Regions from separate parts of the Homo sapiens genome. Here region 1 is linked to region 2. The links are contacts of gene promoters, found by promoter capture Hi-C in blood cells and fetal thymus (Javierre and others, 2016). All regions are on one chromosome and are shown on one strand. The core of a region is centred on a gene start or on the middle of the fragment in contact, and the rest is flanking DNA. Distances in the headings are between cores, read along the strand shown.

What was found. The method cuts DNA at HindIII sites, captures the fragments that hold promoters and counts their contacts. A CHiCAGO score of 5 or more calls a contact.
Region 1: a fragment that was not itself captured here is called in contact with the fragment with the promoter of MOB4 in region 2 in 1 of 17 cell types (monocytes); the score reaches 5.7 in monocytes.

What each region holds. Positions count from the first base shown.
Region 1 is chr2:196,980,800-196,983,499 of GRCh38, reverse strand. It overlaps a transcript of ANKRD44 not described here. Among named protein-coding and RNA genes, the nearest start is that of PGAP1, 55 kb to the right of the region's middle. The HindIII fragment of the contact is 2,815 bases long and covers 1-2,694 here.
Region 2 is chr2:197,514,648-197,517,347 of GRCh38, reverse strand. MOB4 (MOB family member 4, phocein) reads right to left here and starts at 1,282. Exons shown (of 8, transcript NM_015387.5): 1 at 1,202-1,282. The coding sequence starts at 1,261. All of the region lies in intron 2 of HSPE1-MOB4 (HSPE1-MOB4 readthrough), which reads right to left. RefSeq lists a silencer at 1,224-1,443. The HindIII fragment of the contact is 18,120 bases long and covers 1-2,700 here.

The sequences.
Region 1 (2,700 bases), core at 38-2,537, 530 kb after region 2:
ACCAGCTATGCAAAGATCAGAGGAGAGAACATTCTAGGGAGAGGAAAAGGCTAGTGCCAATACCCAAAGGCAGGAATGAGTTTGTTATGTTCTAGGAACAGAAATGGGGCCAGTGTGGCTGGAGACTCAAGGGAAAGGGAGGGTGGCAGAAGATTAACAGCGATCTCAGCCCAGACATAAAATTTTGTGAGCTGGGAGGAGTTTCTATATTTTTCTGAATGTGACAAAAGCCACTGGAGAAATGTAAGCAGAAAAATGGCTGTGGTCTGATTTTTTTTTTCTGTCATTTTTATTTTTTATTTTTTATTTTTATTTTAAGTTCTGGGGTACATGTGCAGAACATACAGAATTGTTACATAGGTATACATGTGCCATGGTGGTATGCTGCACCTATCAACCCGTCATCTAGGTTTTAGGCCCCGCATGCATTAGGTATTTGTCCTAATGCTCTCCCTCCCCTTACCCCAACCCACCAACAGGCCCTGGTGTGTGATATACCCCTCCCTGTGTCCATGTGTTCCCATTGTTCAACTCCCACTTATGAGTGAGAACATGTGGTGTTTGATTTTCTGTTCCTGTGTTAGTTTGCTGAGAATGATGGCTTCTAGCTTCATCCATGTCCCTGTAAATGACATGAACTCATTCTTTTTTATGGCTGCATAGTATTCTATGGTGTATATGTGCCACATTTTCTTTATCCAGTGATTTCATTTTTAAAAGATCACTCTGGCTGCTGTTGAGAGACAAGAGAGAGAAACCCTAGTGACCAATTAGGTAGCCACTGCAATAGCCTAGACAAGTAAATATAGTGGCTTGGATTGTCTGGCAACAAGGGAAATGAAGAGACTGTGACACATTTTGGATATGTCTTGAAGGTAGAGTTGACTGAATTTGCTGATGGCTTGAGTCAAGTAAACAGTAGAGTTTGGGGAAGAAGCCAGGGCTGGGATCATATGAAATTGTAGACATGTGAAAGTTGATTTGGAGTCATTCCTGTCCTACCCAATGAAAATGGAGTCAAGGAGCCTTTGTTGGGAAAGAGCACTCTGGTCACAAACGTCTTCCAAAAACTGTCTCGCAAGTTTACTCCAAGGAAACAGCCTGCTATGACTTCAAGGCGAACTTTACCTAGCAGTTGCTGCCACCTGCCAATCAGAGCTCACCAGCGCCCACTCTGCTATCGCCAATTAACTTTCTTTGAAAACAACTTACATCTTCTTTCTCCTTTCCCAATAAAACTCCAGCCCTTTCCTTTGTTCTTTGGACACACTGGAAACTGCCCTGGTCTCTGTGTGCATGTCCTTATTGCAAGCCTACTTTCTGTATATTACTCTCAAATAAAATCCTCTTGCTTAGAGATTTGTCTCTGCATATATATATATATATATATAATTTTTTTTAGTATTGACAAATGAGAAGAGATTCCCTCAGGAATAAATGATAGAAGAGCCCTGAACTGTGCACACTCCAGCATTTAGAGGTTAGGAAGGGGAGGAGGAGGATCTAGCAGCGAAGACAAGACATAATGGTCAGAGGCAGGAGGAAAACCAAGAGACCAAGATGTCCCTGAAACCTGGGAAATAAAGGGTCATAGAAGAAGGAGTGTCAGTGATTTCTATTGTCTCAATTGCTTCTGGGAAGTCAAATGCAGAGAAGTTGACCAATGGATTTGGCAAGATAGAGTTCATTTATGTATTTATTTTATTATTATTATTATTTTGAGATGGAGTTTCACTCTTGTTGCCCAGGCTGGAGTACAATGGTGCGATCTCAGCTCACTGCAACCTCCACCTCCAGGGTCAAGCGATTCTCCTGCCTCAGCCTCTCAAGTAGCTGGGACTACAGGCACACACCACCACACTTGGCGGATTTTTAAAAAAATTTTTAGTAGAGATGGGGTTTTGCCATGTTAGCCAGGCTGGTCTCGAACTCCCAACCTCAGGTGATCCACCTGCCTCAGCCTCCCACACTGCTGGGATTATAGGTGTGGGCCACCACGCCCAGCCTGGAGAGAACATTTTAGAGTAACAGAGGAGGGTTACTGAGTAGGATTTAGTACACTCAAGATTTATAATCATAAATCTAAAATGATACCAGTCATCCTGGTGGATTTTTTCATCAGATGTTTGGGTGTAGGCATAGAGTAAGAAGACAGTGGAATTTAACCTGGTATAGAGCTTTGCTAGGTAAGTCCAAAGGGAGAGAGGGTTATGGAACTGTGGTGCTTTTAATGGATGTGATTATGTAGATCATGGATTCTAAACTGGGTAAGGAAGAAAGTGAAAACATGAGGGAGGTGATGGATACTGAAAAAGTGGTAGTCAATGGGGGTCAGGATAAGACAGAATTATTGAATTGTAGCCCCAGAGTTGGTGATCTTGATGTGGAGTGCCCAAAGTAAAGATTTCACAGGTGGTATAGTTTTGAGGATGACAAAGCAAAGGATATAACCATGGGAGTGGGTGGTTGAGAATGACTGAAGAAAAAAAAGCATTGGATGTGAAGAAGTAAAAATCTGAGGAGGCCAACATGACAAATAGGAAAAGCTATTTATCATAGAATTGAAGCAAAATAAATGAGAACATTTAACTACTTCAAAACATCTATTATTCAGGTATTTTACTTTAAGTAGATGGATACTAAGAGCTGATTTACTGTCAGGCTGAAATTCGGTTCCAGGATTAGGATGAAGCTTTTAAC
Region 2 (2,700 bases), core at 33-2,532:
GTAGGAATAACTGACAGCTTAATGTGACTCCAAAATAAGACTTTAAAATTTTCTCTGAAATTCAGCACTAGAAGCAGCTTGTTAAAGAGAACAGGTCACCAGTGAATTAAGAATCAGGAGACTATGTATCCTTGGGCAAATCCACTTAATTCTCTTGGGCTTCAGTTTCCTTATCTGTAACATGAATCTGGGGAGGTAATCAATACCTGTATGCCCCCTTCGAAAGGTGTTCTTTCCATAATTCTGTATAAGAAATTAAAATCTATTCTCAGACATACAATCATAGCTCCACGATTGTTTTGTTTCAATTTTCATTTGCATCACTTTTTAACATTTTATAAACACATCTCTTCCGATTTCAGAGCATCTAGTCTATAGCAAGCCATTTCGGCTAGCAATTAATCAGTTCAAGTCTGGATGCCAATTTTATTTATTTATTTTTAATGTGAGGCATCCCATCTTTTCCAAACCCTAAGAAACAATGCCTAATCAAGCACCAATTTACCACACATAATGCCCTACAAAAAAGCTGACAAAATTATAATCAGTTCATTCTCTGACTATGCTTCACGCATATTAGCAAGGAATGACATCTAACAAGTCACAACTTAGTGATGAAAACTTGCTGGACCAGAGAACAGCTCCAGGGAAAGCGGCAGGGAGAGGTGGTCAAAGGGAAACAAGGAGGAGAATATCGGCACCCGGATCCGGCTAGACAAGCTGGATGGCAGGAAACGGGTAGGTACTTCCCAGGCCAGGTAGGAACTGGACGCCGGGTCGAGGTAGGCTGTGTTTACACCCCCTCCCACCTCAGCGGCCCCGACCTTCAGGAAACCCCGGGGGTCTCCACCAGGCTGGTCGCGCCCCTCCAATGCTAGTCAGCTGGGGCTCAGGGGCAAGGCGAGAAGAAGCCGTTGCTGCTGACAGGCTCGCAGCCCAGGGCTTCGGCAGGCAGGTACCACCAGCAGACCCCACCCGCCCCTCACGCCTACCCCTGGGTCGGAGCTCCGCAGGCCTCACGGCGGCCGCCACCGCCTCAGCCAAATTGAGGGGCTGCAGCTCCGGAAGAGCAGGCCGGGCACCAGTGCCCCAGCCCGCCCGCCTGCCGCCTCGGCCCAACCTCCCCGCAGTGGCGGCCAGCTTCCGGGCGCAGCACTGCTCGGCACCTAGTTGCCCGACAAGAAAAGTGCAGACATGGTACCTGCGCCTTGGTGCCCGGCCTGTTCCGCCTCAGCACTGCCGTCCCCTCCGCCATGACCATAGTGCCAGCGTCTAGGCGGCTGGAGTCGGTACCCGGATGTAGGGACGGCAGCCTGCGCGGGGGGCGGGGCAGAGCGGCGCTCTGCGTCTGGGAGGAGGAGCGGCAGCTGACGGAACAGCTGCAGCCTGCGCCGGGAGCCGTCCGGGTAGAAGCGGGCTAGGCGGAGGGAGAGGGCGAACGAGGAACAGCCGGACGGCGTCGGGTGGCTACTGGCAGGGACTGAGGCACCGGAAGGCGGGCGCCACGAGCCTCTTTGCGAGGGCTGCGGGGCGGTTTGAAAGGTCGTGATCGCAGCGACCGCTGCGGCAGTGTGCACGGCTGCGTTGCACGTTGGTATGGGCTCTCGTTAGTTACACGGGAAGAACGAACTTCGTATAGTGGCGACCGTTTCAGTAAACCCACCTGCAAGCAAATACTTAGAGAACCGTAATTCTGTCCCAGAAGCCACCTAAGGAATCAGGGTAGAAAACAGGCCAGCAGTCTTGGCAAATTCTATAGAACCTGCGTGAAATCGACCCAATCTGAAATCAGACGGGGGATTTGAGTGTCAGTGTTATTTACGCCATCCGGCGACTTCAAAGCCAAGGACTTTTTCAATGACAAGTTTGTTTACGTAGATAAAAGACGCAGATGTCAATTATGTGAGATGAAGAGTGGACATCTGGTTTTGTGCGTTAGGCAGACAGATTTAGCTCGTGTTTTTCAAGTCAGAAGCAGGAGGAGGAAATTAGTAGTCCTTGACAGGTGGTGAGGGTTTTACATCTTACAGGATTCCACATTTCCTTTGTTGCAAATTTTAAGTGTTCTCTCTTAAGAAACCACAGCATTTTCGCAAACTTTTTTTCCTGCTTAGAAACCTTGAATCTTTTATCTGGGGTGAGGGAGGCCTTGGGATAGCAGATGGGAAGACAGTTCAAAAAGTAAAAAACGCATACAGTAGCATGATTTCCAAAAGAAGAAAACATCAAGTGTCCCTAGATAGAAGGTGTATTGAGAATGCTGAGGGAAGGGCCATGTAACAGCTTCCAGAAATGGAATTTGAGAGGAGAGGAGAGGTTGAGTGGGTCTCTAGCTGAGTAATTGTCAGTGACTTAGAACTAGGCATTGAAGGGTTTAACAACAGGAAGTTGGTTCTCTCTGGAAGATGTATTGACTGGTAACTCTTCAAGAATAGGGACTTAATTTTGCCCTCCCAGAACCAGCGTCTACATATGAAAAGATTATTCGTTCAACAGATACTCATTAAGCCCCACTATATGGTAGGCACTAATGTACAAGTATGATAAGGCTCAGTCCTTCACTACAAATTGCCTTGACTCCAGCAACAGAGACGTGCAAATCACAAATTCTTATACAGGTTAAGTACCCCTCATCTTAAAGTTTGGGACCAAAACACTTTCAGATTTCTGATTATTTTGGATTTTAGAATATTTGCATAT